3 separate regions of the Homo sapiens genome follow, and regions 2 and 3 are each linked to region 1. The links are contacts of gene promoters, found by promoter capture Hi-C in blood cells and fetal thymus (Javierre and others, 2016). All regions are on one chromosome and are shown on one strand. Each heading gives the region's core, a stretch centred on a gene start or on the middle of the fragment in contact. The rest is flanking DNA. Distances are from core to core; before and after follow the strand shown.

Region 1 (4,404 bases), core at 1,291-3,790:
TTGCCCAGGCTGGTCTCAAACTCCTGAGCTCAGGCAATCCGCCCATCTCGACCTCCCAAAGTGCTAGGATTACAGGCCTGAGCCACCGCACCCGGCCAATAAGTTGTTCCTTTAAGGAAAAGAAGGCACACTGCTTTGTGGTTTATCTTTTTTACTACTTCGAATTAAGGAGCATGTCTTCAAATGGCCACACTACAAATGGTCGGTTCTTATCTGTATTAGCAGTCGAAGAGTGTAGACATTCAGACCTAGGATGTATAAACATCTCCTTTTCTATGTGGAAAAAAATGATCACATCCTTTTGGGAAAACTGACATTTTTAAAAAGCTTACGGCATTTTGAAAGATGTCTACTTGTTCCACTTTTCTAAATGGATAGAATCACAAACTGAAAACAAATTATCGAAAAAAGAACAGTTTTAAGGGGAACCTACTAATTAAACAGTTAACCGAAGCTACGAGTTACAAAATTAGTTTCTCTTTGGTTTCCTTATGCTTGAAGGAACACTCTTTGGCCAACTATTCAGCTTGGTAGGTTCCATTCATTAAAACACCTCACTCTACAGAAACGGATCACAACACATCCAGACTGCGTCTCCCTAGCACTATTACGATTATTCTGAGGAAAAAAGAAAAAGCCTAACAAAAGACGTCAAGGATTGTGGTAGTATTTTTAAAATTTCAATATGCAAGCAGGACTCTTATGCAGGTTGATTTAACAGTTTAAATTCCATTTTATCTGGCCACTGCAGGCAAAGCAGCAGTTCTTTATCTCCTCACCATAGGAACATAAATTACCCCACAGAGACCGTCCTCCCTACTTTTCTCCTGTAGGTCAGAATCAAATCATCGAACTTGACTATTACAAATGCTCACATTTGAGTCCTCCCCTTCCTTTCTTTCTTGTCCCTGGATTAATTCCTACGTGGCTAGCACAAACCTAATTTATGATGTAAATAGGTAGAGCGGATCCCTAAAAAGCTCTGCCCCTGTGGGTTCGCACTTGGCACGTCCCCCTCCGTGTCGTTGCTTCGCTGGAATTTCCAATGAAACAGTAACAGTAGCTAAGGTAACTGAGAGCGGGGCTGAACCTGGCCAATTCCGGAGCAGAAACGCAAAGACTTTCTCCGGGTCTGGGGGTGGGGAGACTGGCGTCGCGGACAGATTTCCGATTGCGCGGGGGTGGTGAGAGGCCAACGAGTGCAAAGGCGGTTGTCTAGTCTTTGAAGGCCGGCGGCTGGCTCTGCCACGCTCTCAGCAGGAAGGGGAGGGGACCAGGAGGAAGAGGGGGAGAAGGAGGAGATGCAGCGAAGAGCCCAAGGAGGGGGAGGAAGACCGGGGGAGGAAGGAGGGGCCAGAGGAGGAGCCCAGGCTCCGGGAAAGCCCGCGCGCCCGGCCGGCAGGACCTCGGGGCGGAGTCGCAGGCTCCGTCCGGCCCCCCGCGCGGCGACCCTCGCGCGGTGCGCCTCGAAGGGGCGGGCCCGCCTCGCAGCCTCCCTCCGGGTTTCGGGCCCTCCTTCCCCGCTCCTCCCTCCCCTCCCTCCTTTCCATCTCAGCAGCGCCCTCAGTCTCCCTCTCGCAGGCTCATACAAAAGCAAAATGTCCGCCATGTTCCGAGGCGGCTGCGGTTGTCGCGCCACGAGCTCGGCCCTCCTGCGGTTTCTCCCCGGGGCTGCTCCTCCCCGGTCCCCTCTCCCCGACCCCAGGCGCGACAGCTACTCCGAAGCCGCCGACGGCACCACTCCGCCCGCCCTCTGCGCACCCCCTCGCCGCCCGCCCCGCCGGGCGACGCAGGACCGCCTTAGGCGGGGGCAGGGGGGTAAGCAGCCCCCGCCGACTTGCTCCCGCTTCCCGCCTGTCCCCCCACCCGTAGCCCCTTTACCTTGATGCAGTACGGGGGTTCGTCGTAGGTGACCAGCATGTACCTGTCTCCACGGCTGGCCGGGTCCCGGGCGCGCAGCTGCGGGGCAAGGGATGACGGAGGGGGTCGCGTAGGAAAGGAGGGGGGAGGGCGATACAAACGTTACAGAAGCACCTCAATCCACACCCTGAAATCCCTCGGGAGCTCTCCCCATCTCTCCCCTCCCCTCCCTTTACCTTCAAGAATAACTCCACAGCGCCTTTGGCAATGTCCAAATAAGAGGTGCCCAGGTCAGTGCGCTGGTTCATAGAGGCGGACGTGTCTATGAGGAACAGCAGGATGGGCATCTTCCCCCGCACTCCTGCCTCCGCTCCCCACTCTCCCGGCCCTCTTGCCCTCACTGCCGCGTACGGCCACCTGAACCCTCAACTCTCGCAGAGCCGGGGAGCAAGGAGCAAGAGGAAGAGGGGGAGACGGGACGGGACGGGACGGATGGGACCGCTCCTGGCCTCCTCTTTCTGCAGCCCCACCTCCTCTCCCTCCAAGGGAACTTGAAAGTGTGAGCGTGTGTAGCCCTCGGGGCCCTCCCCCTTCCTCTCTTCTGCTGCCACCACTACTGCCGCTGCCAGGACTACTGCCTAAGCATCCGTCCGCGCTCACTAGAGCGCTCGCCCCAGACTGAGCGCCGTCTCTGTTCACTGACAACTTCTGTCTGCTCACCTACCATCGGCACCATGTGACCAGAACCCATGCCATTGGCTGCCAATTATGTGGTATTTGCATATTCATTAGATGACAGGACTAGGGGAGGGACTTGGGCGAACCCTGGGAGTTGAAGTTTGAACCCAGGCAGAGGGTAAGGGGAAGTGTTACGGACCCTCGCTAGGATTCTCCTTTAAAGGACTTGGAAGCAGTTCGAATGATTAGTTCGGGTGGTTTAAATGGATTTTTCTGTCTCTCTTCAAAGATGGTGATTCGAAAAGAAGAGTGAATTTGAGCAACAGTTGTACAGAAGTACAGAAGCAGATGCTTGGACAGTTTGCACAGAAAATTCTTCGCTAACTGCAATCGATCAATCCTGCCAGTGGCGAAGACGAAAATATTTCAGAAGCAGCAAACTTCTTTCCTGGCAGGACGTACTCACATTCCTTTAGATCCCTCCCCCGTCTTGATCAGTATTTGTGAGTTGGTTGCTGGCCTTGCATTCCACATATATCTACTTAGAAAGGAAACTAAAGCTTAAACACAGTTACAGTTACCTAAACTGGCCTTTTGTATGCACAAGCTTCTTCAGTTTCACTAAGCTCTTTGAAACATTGGCCTGCCTGTGATAATTCCACCACTGTTCCCTCTGCGCAGCCTTTACACATGGAGGTTTGCAAACCTAGATTGTGATTCAACTCACATATTTATTTATTTATTTATTTTTATAAATAAATAAAGAGGATCTCGCTTGATCGCCCAGGCTGGAGTGCAGTGGCCCCATCATAGCTGCCTGCAGCGTCCAGCTCCTGGGCTTAAGCGATCCTCCCATCTCAGCCTCTCAAGTAGCTGGGACCACAGGGGCAGGCTCTCAACTCACATTTATTGAGTGCCTATGAAGAGCCAGGCACCCACGGTAGCCTTGTTTAATCTTTGAATTAATTATGGCAGATGGCATTGTATTCAATTTTCAGTAGAGGAAAATGCAGCTCCCTGAGGTTAGGGTAACAATTACGGATACTCTCAGGTCTGGCTCTGTGAAGAGACTCAGTAAGTGGCCAACCACACTTGATTGACTACTTCATATGACACAATTTTAAAAATTGGACTTGTGTATTCCTGGCAATTACTATTGACAATGTGGAATCCAGGACTTCAATGAGTTTGCAGTTTCATTGAGGAGAGATGATGACATATACATACATAATATTTTATATATTTTGGCCAGGCGCAGTGGCTCATGCCTGTAATTCCAGCACTTTGGGAGGCCGAGGTGGGTGGATCATTTGAGGGCAGGAGTTTGAGACCAGCCTGGCCAACATGGTGAAACCCCCGTCTCTACTAAAAATACAAAAATTAGCCGGGCATGGGAGCAGGCGCCTGTAGTCCCAGCTACTTGGGAGGCTGAGGCAGGAGAATCACTTCAACCCAGGAGACGGAGGTTGCAGTGAACTGAGATCACACCACTGCACTCCAGCCTGGGCAACAGAATGAGATAACATCTCAAAAAAGTATTTTATATATTTTATATACACTCTCTCTCTCTCTCTCTCTCTCTATATATATATGTATGTTCTGTGTATATGTTTCATATATTATATATGCACATTCAATAACATTCTCAGAGAAATACGATTTTAAAAGAAGTCATATGGCAGTATATGAATCAGGGACAAACAAGGATGCAAGTTAAAAAGTGCTATGGAAACAATGGTCCAGTCTAGAAATTCATAGGATTTCACGAACAAGGCACAAAAAGGGAAGAGAGGGAATCTGGGTTGGAAGGAATGATATGAACAAAAACTCAGCCAAAGATAGTACTATGTATGGTGCATTTCAGGC
Region 2 (4,404 bases), core at 958-3,457, 3.5 Mb after region 1:
AATTAAGATTTAAAAATTCAAGAGATAGGCAACTCAGATAATTAAAAGCAGGGAGCAATCAGAAATACTGAACAGCAAGCAGTTCCTAAACCATATAAATTCAATAAGTTCAAGACAAATAAAATAAAAATCAGAAACCATTTTCCCCTCAGCACACAGAGTTCCCCAGAATCACAAACTTGATGAACTGGAGGCACTCACTCTGCTGACGCACACACGCAGGCTCGCGCACACAATGGAGCGAGAAGCATGGAGACCCTCAGAGACAAACTTCACATGTGCATCGTTTTACTCTCCACAGAATGGAAAGAAGAGCACGGTGAGAAAATGTCACTTTTTCCCAGATCAAACAGCAAAACTGTACTTAGTATTGTGAACTATGAATTCCCTTGATACAATCAAAGGCAGAACTGAATGAATGGGGTGTGGGGCAGGGTGCGTGGGGAAAAGAAGGAGGGAAGGAGAGGGGAGGCCGCCTGAGAGGAAGAAAGTTTAAGGCATTTTGCAAGGCTTGAGTGGATTAATCTTTTTTTTTAAGCCCTACTATTTCCTATTTCCCTTTCTCTCTCTCTCTTTATTTAATATACACTAACTTCCTGAGACTCAACCCAGACTTGCCCTAAATGCAGCTGAAATGTCTGGTGTTTAGGACACACCAAGAGTTCTAGGTGCACAAATAAATCCCATTTTGGGAAAGAATTTAAAAATCACTTTTGTGGACATTCATAAAATGAGAACACTGAAAAAAAAAAAAAAACTCCATGTATCAATAAGTAAATTGAGGCCCCAGTCTACAGCTCTTTGATTTCTACTAGAAATATAAGCTATTTACTATAAACATTTTATTTTTGAACTTCAAAAAAGTTTGTTTTCACATTTTAGATCATGAAAGACTGAGGCTTCAGTGGTTTTAGCCCCTAAATGGGTTGTTTAGGCCATCTAGCAAAGGAAAAAAAAATAGAACATGAATGCTTTAAAAAGTTAGTAAATTTGGATAACACTTAGCAGATAGCCTAAAATGCACCGATTTAAAAACATAACAGCATAAAAAGTTTTCTGACATAGCTTATCTTTAATAAAATGAAAATATAATGGGAGGGGGTTGGGCTGGGTAGACTTCGAGTAACAAGTTGGGTCCCATGCAGTAGTCCCTTGTCCAAGACAAAAAGCTTCCTTTAACCACATGTAACAGTCATCTTGTGGGAAAGGCACGGAGGGGGCTGAGAAGTCATCACCTCAGTGACTCTGAACAGAACCAGCATTTCTCACGCCACACTATGGGCTGGGCTAGGTCGGGGAGCAAGCTACAACTTTGCCCTTAAGCAGCAGTACCGAAAGGGAGAAAGAGGTCACCTCTCTCTTAGCCCTACGCACACAGGAAGAGCCCAATTCAAGCCGCCGCCGCCGCCACCCCTGGTGTTGCCCCGCCCCAACTTGAGTGTGTGTTTGGGGTGGGGGGTGTAGGGCACTCACTACTCGCGTTATACCCCACAAATTCCAAGGCACTTCCATCTCTCCCAGGTTAAGTTCCGCCCCCCCATCCCCAACCGTGCCAAGCTCAGCAGGCGCAGGTGTCTGTGGCTCTGGCCTATTTTTATACCCCCAACCGCCCTCAATCTCCACCTAGTTGCGCGCTCCAGTCCCGCCTCGCCTTCCCAGCGAAGAGCACTACCTAGCCTACACACCAGGAAACACCTCCAGCCCTACTCCCAGGTCACCTGGCCATAGTGACCGGCCCTGCCCTCAGGGGAGCCCTGGGGCCGTCCCTTGTCGCCGGTGCCCAGCACCGAGGGCGCACCGGGCTCCCAAGCAGTCACGTGGGCGGCGGGGGCGGCCTGCGCTTCCTCACCTGCATCCCAGGCACTTGGACAGCCACCGGCGAGTGGGCCATGGAGGCGAATGCTGCCTCGCTCCGCTTCTGCGGCGGTGGCGCCTTGGGTTCGGACTGGCTCCTCCCTCCGGGGGTAGTTCGGCGGCCCTCCCAGGCTTTTCGATCGGGGCCTGGGAGGACACACAAAAGTGGGGTTACTGGGCTGGCGGCGCGTAGCCCGGGGCTAGGAGGTGGGCTGTTAGCGGCGCAGCTCCCTGGGACTCAGTCTACCTTTCTGGCGCCCGCCCGCCGCTGAAGCAGCCGCCTCCGCTGCTGCTCCTCTTCCTGAACGCCGAGCGCTGTGAGTGGTGGTGGCTGGGACCTGGGCTCGAGTGATGCCGCTCCTCTGCGCCTCGCCGCTTTAGGAAGAGGAGGTGGAGGCGCCCCAGCCACCCGCCTGCTCGCCTGGCCTGGGAGGCGGTTGGGGGCGGTTCCGCCGTTGGCCCTGCCCCCGCCCCGCAGCCGGGCGGTGTCGCGGGAGCCAAGGCTCCAGGCAGCGAAGAGGTTTGGCTGGGGTTGCTGGAGTCTGAGAAGCTGGAGACTCTCCCGGCACGCGGAGAGGAGAACCCGGGGACCCGGAGACCTGGGACATGGCTGGGCCTGGGAAGAGAATGGAAGAGTTTGGGAAACCCTGAGGGTATGAGGGCGCCCCAGATGCGGCCACGTTGCAGGGAGGCGTGCGAGGCTGGGGCACACGCAGCCTCGGAGACGACTTGAGCTGAAACTTGGGGAGTGTTGGAAGTCTTTCTTGGCTCCCCGGCCTGGCCAAGGGTAGGATTACAGATAGCCGCGGAGTCGGTGGACCCCCGCTTTTTCCCGCCATCTGGTCTCCTCAGCTGGGGGTCGCGCCTCTGGGCAGATCTGTGGCCACACTCTTGCTTTCCGAGTTCCCTGACCCCAAACATGCTTCAGGTGACTTCAACTTAAGGTTCCCCCTACCTCCTGGGCTATCCCTTGCAGAACGGCCAAACTAGGGCTTCTCTCTACCACAAGTTCTGCACGTGTAAGGCAGAGGGAAATTGGAAAACAGATGGTACATCGGCAGAAAAATTAATGAGGATAGTAGAGGCTTGGGAAATGAGATTGGATCGTTAGCAGTACAGGTTATTGAAATCAGCATACACTGCAGTGGTTTTGGTAACTCCCTGCCTCCGCCCCATTTTAAGTTCTACTCCAGGAGAGGGAGACAGGCTCTTTTGAGAGTACTCTAACAGTAGCGACAGTAACACTGGTAATAATAGTAACAGGAATTTCATTATGAAGGCACCTTTGGGAACACGTAAGGGGTTAATTACTTTTTAAAAAAGTAATAGTCGAGTGCCAGTTTAAAATGAAGATGAAGTTCCTTACCTTGAAATTTGTTATGGGTCTCTACGCACCACACGGTGGGGGGCCTCTAGTGGTAAAAGATAGTTTCTCTTCTTCCTTTTAAATCTTTTTCAGAGAATAGTATATAATTCTTATCAATATCGTTATTATTAATGGATATTATTTTCATTGTGCCAGGGACTGCTAAGTGCTTTCTATGTGTTATTAATACCTTACTGAACCTGTACAAGGGCCTTCTGGAGTCTTATTGATTTCCCCTCATTTTACAGATGAAGAAAAAGGCTCAACCAGGTTAAATAATTTGACCGAAATGTCACGCAATTAAGAAGTGGTACAGCTGGGAATTCAGACGCAGGTCCCTCTGACTGGTGATAAACTTACTACTTTCTCTATGGTTTCTGTTTGTGTTTAATGATGATAAAAGGTACAATTGCATTTTCCTTACTCCTAGTTCCCCAAGTCCAGCCCTTCACTATTTCTAACCTAATGTTAGGCTCCAATCTAGTCTCGATTTCCCACCAACCCAGCTCACAACATTGCCAGCCTGACCGGAAACCTGCAGTGCCACCTAAACTTTTAATGTCCATAGAAATCCGAGGGTTCTTTTGCTCCCTCAAAAGCGCAGATTTTTATCTCCCATGTCTGGACTGGGCCCAAGATTCTGCAATGCTAACAAGCTCTCACATGGTGATGATGTTTAGATCACACTTTTAAGTCGCAAGGGTCTGAATCAAGCTCCATCATTTAAGACCTGTCTCAAATCTCACCTCCATTGACCCTTCCTAGTTGCTCCAAGCCCTCCTTCAAACTCCTCCAATGTGAGCAGCGCTCACACTGTAGTTCTTTCTTCTTATTTCATATATTTCATTTGTTTTGTGTGCCCATATTAGGTCCTTGAGGGCAGAGATCCAGCCTCTCTTACATGAGAATGATTCAGGTAGGATGGCAGGAGTCTGAGGGCAAGCTTTTTATACATTTTGTCCATTGCTGTATCCCCAGAGACTAGGTTCATGGCATGTAGTAGGCCCTCAATAAATAATTGTTGAATGAATGAATGAACTTCTTTTGAATTCTCCACTGAGGTTACTAGGTGCATAATGTATACACTATATATTTTATTGATGTCAGGTTAAACCCCTAGGCATTGCCCTTACTGAACATTTAAATTGTTCAGTTTATTGTGTGTTACATCTTTCATTATTTAG
Region 3 (4,404 bases), core at 1,170-3,669, 3.0 Mb after region 1:
ACAGTTCCTCATTTGTTAGAGCATTGGGTATAAAGTTATGTAACTCACCCATGCCCTTCTCTCTAGCTGACTGTGATAGCCAACACTGCCTACTTTTTGCTGTGGTAGATCTTGGGACTGCCAAAGCCACTTCCTGTATGTCAGACACATTTGACTTTTACAGCAGTTCAGGCAATTCGGCAAATTTGAAGGAAGGTGGGAAGAGGTGGTTAGGAATTAGAGTCTTTTCCCCCTTTTCTCAAATAACTAGCAACTCCTACTCTCTTGACTTATGCTATGTTTCTACCCAGTATAACAAAGTATCGGACACCATCCCTGCGCATTGTCCCAATGACTTTCACGATACTTGCCAAAACCATCGGGGGTTTTCTCAATTATTTGAAGGGCAGTTTGTACCCAGTCTTGTCCTCCCAGCCATTACCATCCTACTCTATTATCTTGCACTTAACAAACAGATTGATTTCTTGCCTAAAATTAGCTGGAGAATTCTATTTGGATCAGTCCATCAGAATTAAAAAGTATAATTAGCCTGAGAATTCACTCCACTTTTCAACCTAACTGCTGCTTAAATATCTCCTGCAATGTTTTGCACTTTGTGCAGAGCATGTAGAACTCTGTCTCTGGGTGAAGTAGCTGATTACAGGAAAGCAGCCATGAATTGCTATGAGCTTGTCACTGACGATCCTGCATATGTGTGCGTTATCAACTACAATTGTCTTCGTAAAATTAAATAAAAGCACGCATTTATTATTGTGGGGCTCCAATTAAGGGACAGCTGGTGCTCCTATTACACTTGCATTAAATCGAAACTTGTAATTTCCCTGTGCAGATGCACACTTTTTAATCAAGATATAAAATTGCATTTGCTTTGTCCATTTTCCAAAGTATCTGGAACCTTACCTCAGGGTTCCTCTTATCCTGCAAACTCCGTGGAAGAAGGGGAACAGATTGCACTGATCAGCATTTCCCTGTCTGAAATTCTTAGAGGGAAATAAACGATTGGGGCATTTATGAAAGATAAAACCCCCAAGAAGGCAGCTGGTGAGTATGAATGTATTTATTTAGCCTGTAGCGAGTGGACTTATTCATCGACTAAGATCAATTTTGAAAGGACCCATTTCGCCTCACCTGTCTGGGAAGTGTCTATGAGCGTCCCGCTGTGAACCACACTGCCTTTCTCACTGGCACTTCAGTTCCTGAAGAGCCAGAAACTTTGCACCCCTACCCCAACCCCGCCTCTGGGGATGTGTGCCTGCTTCGTTTGTTTTCGCTTTTGTAAAATCTGAGCGTTATGATTTGTCCCCCTTTCCCTTCCTAATGAAATGACAAAGGGTCTGTGCAGCGGGGGCTGGGCTGCTGGGTTTGGGGGCGAGGCGCCACACCCCCTGAGAATAAAGCCCGCGCTGCGCTCTCGGAGAACCAGGCACGAGTGAGCGAACCACACAAAGAATATATTTCGCGACGAAACAGCGCCCTACAGGAAGAAAGTGCCCGCACTCCGAGCGTGAGCCGCAGCGCGACTTTTTGGCGCTCTTTGGGAGCAGTGAGAGAGAGGCGGAGGCCAGAGAGTCCGGGGTGGGCGCGGGAGCCGGGGCGGCCCTTGGCCGCATTCCCGCCCGTCCCGCAGCGGCGCGCGGAGCCAGGTGAGGTTGGCGGCGGCGCCGCGCTACCTGGCCGGGCGGGGCGGGGCCGGGCGGCCGCGTGCGCCGCTTCCGAGTCCGGCGCTCCGGATGCCCGCCCGCGCTCCGCTGGCCCGCGGAGTTTCGCGGGAGTTTCCGTTTTGGCGCCTAAAGCCCCTCGCTGGCGCCGTTTCCCTCCGCGTGCCGCGTCTGTCCGGCGCGGGACGCACGGAGGCGCGGCCCCAGCCCGGGCTGCCTGGGGTCGGCGGGGCTGCGCGAGGGGACGTCTGGCGTCCGGCGGAGGGCACTGGCCCGGGAGGAGGGCACGCCTTTGGCAAAGGCCGGGCGGGGTTGGGACCGGGGTTGCTATGGTAGCTGCGAGCCCGGGCGGGAGCCCCACGCCCGGCCTCCGCGAGGGAGCTGGGGCGCTCCGAGGTGTGCTCCGAGTGGACTGAACCAAGAGCCTGGGAGGAGCGGGTAGGGCCGGCCCGTGGCCTTGTCCCCTCCTCCCACAGCCCGCCGGCCGGCCCCGGGAAGGGGCCTCGAGGAGCCCAGAAAAGAAAGTATTCTGGCCCCTGGAACCGAAAGGAGTCTTGCAAAAAGCACGAAGGGGTCAAGGGGGCCGAAGGGAGAGGGGGAACCGTCGCCTCCGTCCGAGAGTCAGCGTGCGCGTGTCTGTAGACTTGACATTTTATACCCCAGAGCGGCCGACTTGGAGCCGGGTTGCAAGTCCCAGCCCTGAAGTTCTGGAGGTGGGGCGGGCTTTAATTTGCTTATATCTAATGATTTCAGGAACCTCGCTTTAAAATGGCGGCATTCAGTATGCACCCCTGCTAAAGGCTCTCCCGGCACCGGGGCCACCTCGCGCAGCGCTGCTTTTGCTTCTGCCGCTAACAGATGGCATGTGCCGCTGTCGCTGCCGCTGCCCCTGCTGCTGCCGCTGAGAGCAGGGCCCCTTAGCCTCTGGGTTTGCGCTAGCAGCGTAAGGTAAGGCTGGAGATGAATTGGGATTTGTAAGAGAGGCTGCCTTCCTCGGACGCCGAGGAAATAATGCCTTTTAAACTTCATTTTACAAAATAGCAAATAGGAGGAAAAGTCATCCTGCAACTTTGTTGCGATTTTAGAGCTTTGATCATTTTCCTCCTCCTTTCCTCCTCCTCCTTTTTCTTCTTCCTTCTCTTCCTCCTCTTCTCTTCCTCCTCCCCTTCCTTCCTTCTTTCTTTTTTTCTACTTTCTTCTTTTTAATTTAAAGGAACTTCTTGCATGGCATATAATCAGCAAATGCTTTTTAACAACGAATTTCCCCATTTTCACGCGATATCGTGAGCAGTGCCACAGCTTCCTTGCAGAACCTTGTCTCTTCCTGCCCTGAGTCAACACGTTTGGGCAGCTCGCTTTTACTACTGGGGTTTGAAGGGCATGAGAGTAGATTTTAGGAGACTATTAAAAAGGGAACTTTAGTTTTTAACACTCACACAATAAGCTTTTATGGTAAGAAAACGAAATTAAACCCAGACGAGTAATGAAAGTTGACATTTAAGTGATTCTTTGTTGTGGTTTCATAATTAGGGTAATAGACCTACTGTGTGTTTTTCTGAGCACTCTTAGATAGCTAGCTAGCTAGCTAGCTAGCTAGATGATAGATAAAACAGATAAATTAATTGTGGCTCTAATTAAAGTAATATGTTTTAAAGGAGTTATTTTCTCCTAGATGTTCTTACATCGTTTGTAAATTGAGCTGGGATCCCCACAGCCTCTCCGTATTTGTGGGTAGACTTCATGGGAAAGAATCAATTAAAACAAAACTTGCAAGATTTAATTTTGAAGTGATTGGTACTTTTTTTATTAAGCGGACTCCCTGCTTTAGTGAATAAACGTTTGGGTGATTACTGATATAATGTTTGGAAAACAGATTGTTGGTATGTGGGAATGACTAAACATCCATGCTTGATACAATTTATCTGAATTTTGTTTTGTTTTGTTTCCCCCTCCAGTGAAAGGTAAATAGACAATGAGGCTTATCAGACACCTTGGATTTTTCCTGATTATATTTCCATCTTCTCCTTGGCCCATGAAAATCTAATCCTGAATGTTTAACTACTTTTTAAAATAATTTTTAACTTTTTTCTAATGTGCGATACTTTTGGGGGATGCTTTCATATTTACCAACACTTCTTCAAATATAGACTAAAATGGGCTTCTGCCCACAGCTCAGCTGATAATATTCTATCGCTGTTCACTCCTTCTCCCAAAGCAGTAGAAACTACTTGGTTGGCAGACGCTCTGCTACTAAATTTAGCAAGTGTGTGGAAAGGGAGAAAAATATTGTTTTGCCCTTATTAAAGCATGGTGCAGTTTTCTGCCCAGGTGCTGTAGTCTACCTAGAAACAAACAACCAAACTGTTTACAATGGAATTACTATACAACAAATTTTCAGCAGTTTTTCATATTATTCTTGAAAGAAGTATGTGGGGCAATTCATTGCTTCATGTCTAAAATGAGAGTTCCTGCAGGTAGAGCAATAAACACTTGCATTTTGGTAAAGGGAGGATGAGAAAAAGCAACTTCTCCCATTTTTAGTGATTATGGACTTAGATCCCAGTTCAGTACTGTTTGCTTCCGGATGTGCTACCTTGCTGCTAAAAGACTTCGGACCAAATGCATCCTTAAAAAAAAAGAAAAAAAGAAAGAAAGAAAAGTGAAAATACTAAACCTTGAGGCCAGAATAGACAAGCTAAACTGGTGTCAGAGAAATTAGGAAATTTTGCCAGTTAACATTCTGCTG

What was found. Contacts are between HindIII fragments. The CHiCAGO score rates a contact against its expected background, and 5 or more counts as called.
Region 2: the fragment with the promoter of STK26 here is called in contact with the fragment with the promoter of INTS6L in region 1 in 2 of 17 cell types (non-activated CD4 T cells and fetal thymus); the score reaches 5.6 in non-activated CD4 T cells.
Region 3: the fragment with the promoter of MBNL3 here is called in contact with the fragment with the promoter of INTS6L in region 1 in 1 of 17 cell types (monocytes); the score reaches 5.2 in monocytes.

Annotation. Positions count from the first base shown.
Region 1 is chrX:135,518,796-135,523,199 of GRCh38, reverse strand. INTS6L (integrator complex subunit 6 like) reads right to left here and starts at 2,540. Exons shown (of 18, transcript NM_001351601.3): 1 at 2,097-2,540; 2 at 1,882-1,959. The coding sequence starts at 2,207. It overlaps INTS6L-AS1 (INTS6L antisense RNA 1), which reads left to right and starts at 2,526. Exons shown (of 2, transcript NR_046740.1): 1 at 2,526-2,633; 2 at 2,828-3,117. RefSeq lists silencers at 1,437-1,636, 1,697-1,966 and enhancers at 2,217-2,276, 2,307-2,386. The HindIII fragment of the contact is 2,771 bases long and covers 330-3,100 here.
Region 2 is chrX:132,021,105-132,025,508 of GRCh38, reverse strand. STK26 (serine/threonine kinase 26) reads right to left here and starts at 2,207. Exons shown (of 12, transcript NM_016542.4): 1 at 2,102-2,207; 2 at 1,850-2,001. The coding sequence starts at 1,891. RefSeq lists enhancers at 1,526-1,595, 1,565-2,112, 1,966-2,125, 2,576-2,625, 2,113-2,659 and a silencer at 2,166-2,415. The HindIII fragment of the contact is 2,994 bases long and covers 1,172-4,165 here.
Region 3 is chrX:132,487,053-132,491,456 of GRCh38, reverse strand. MBNL3 (muscleblind like splicing regulator 3) reads left to right here and starts at 2,419. Exons shown (of 9, transcript NM_001386889.1): 1 at 2,419-2,606. RefSeq lists a silencer at 1,571-2,140. The HindIII fragment of the contact is 7,236 bases long and covers 1-3,104 here.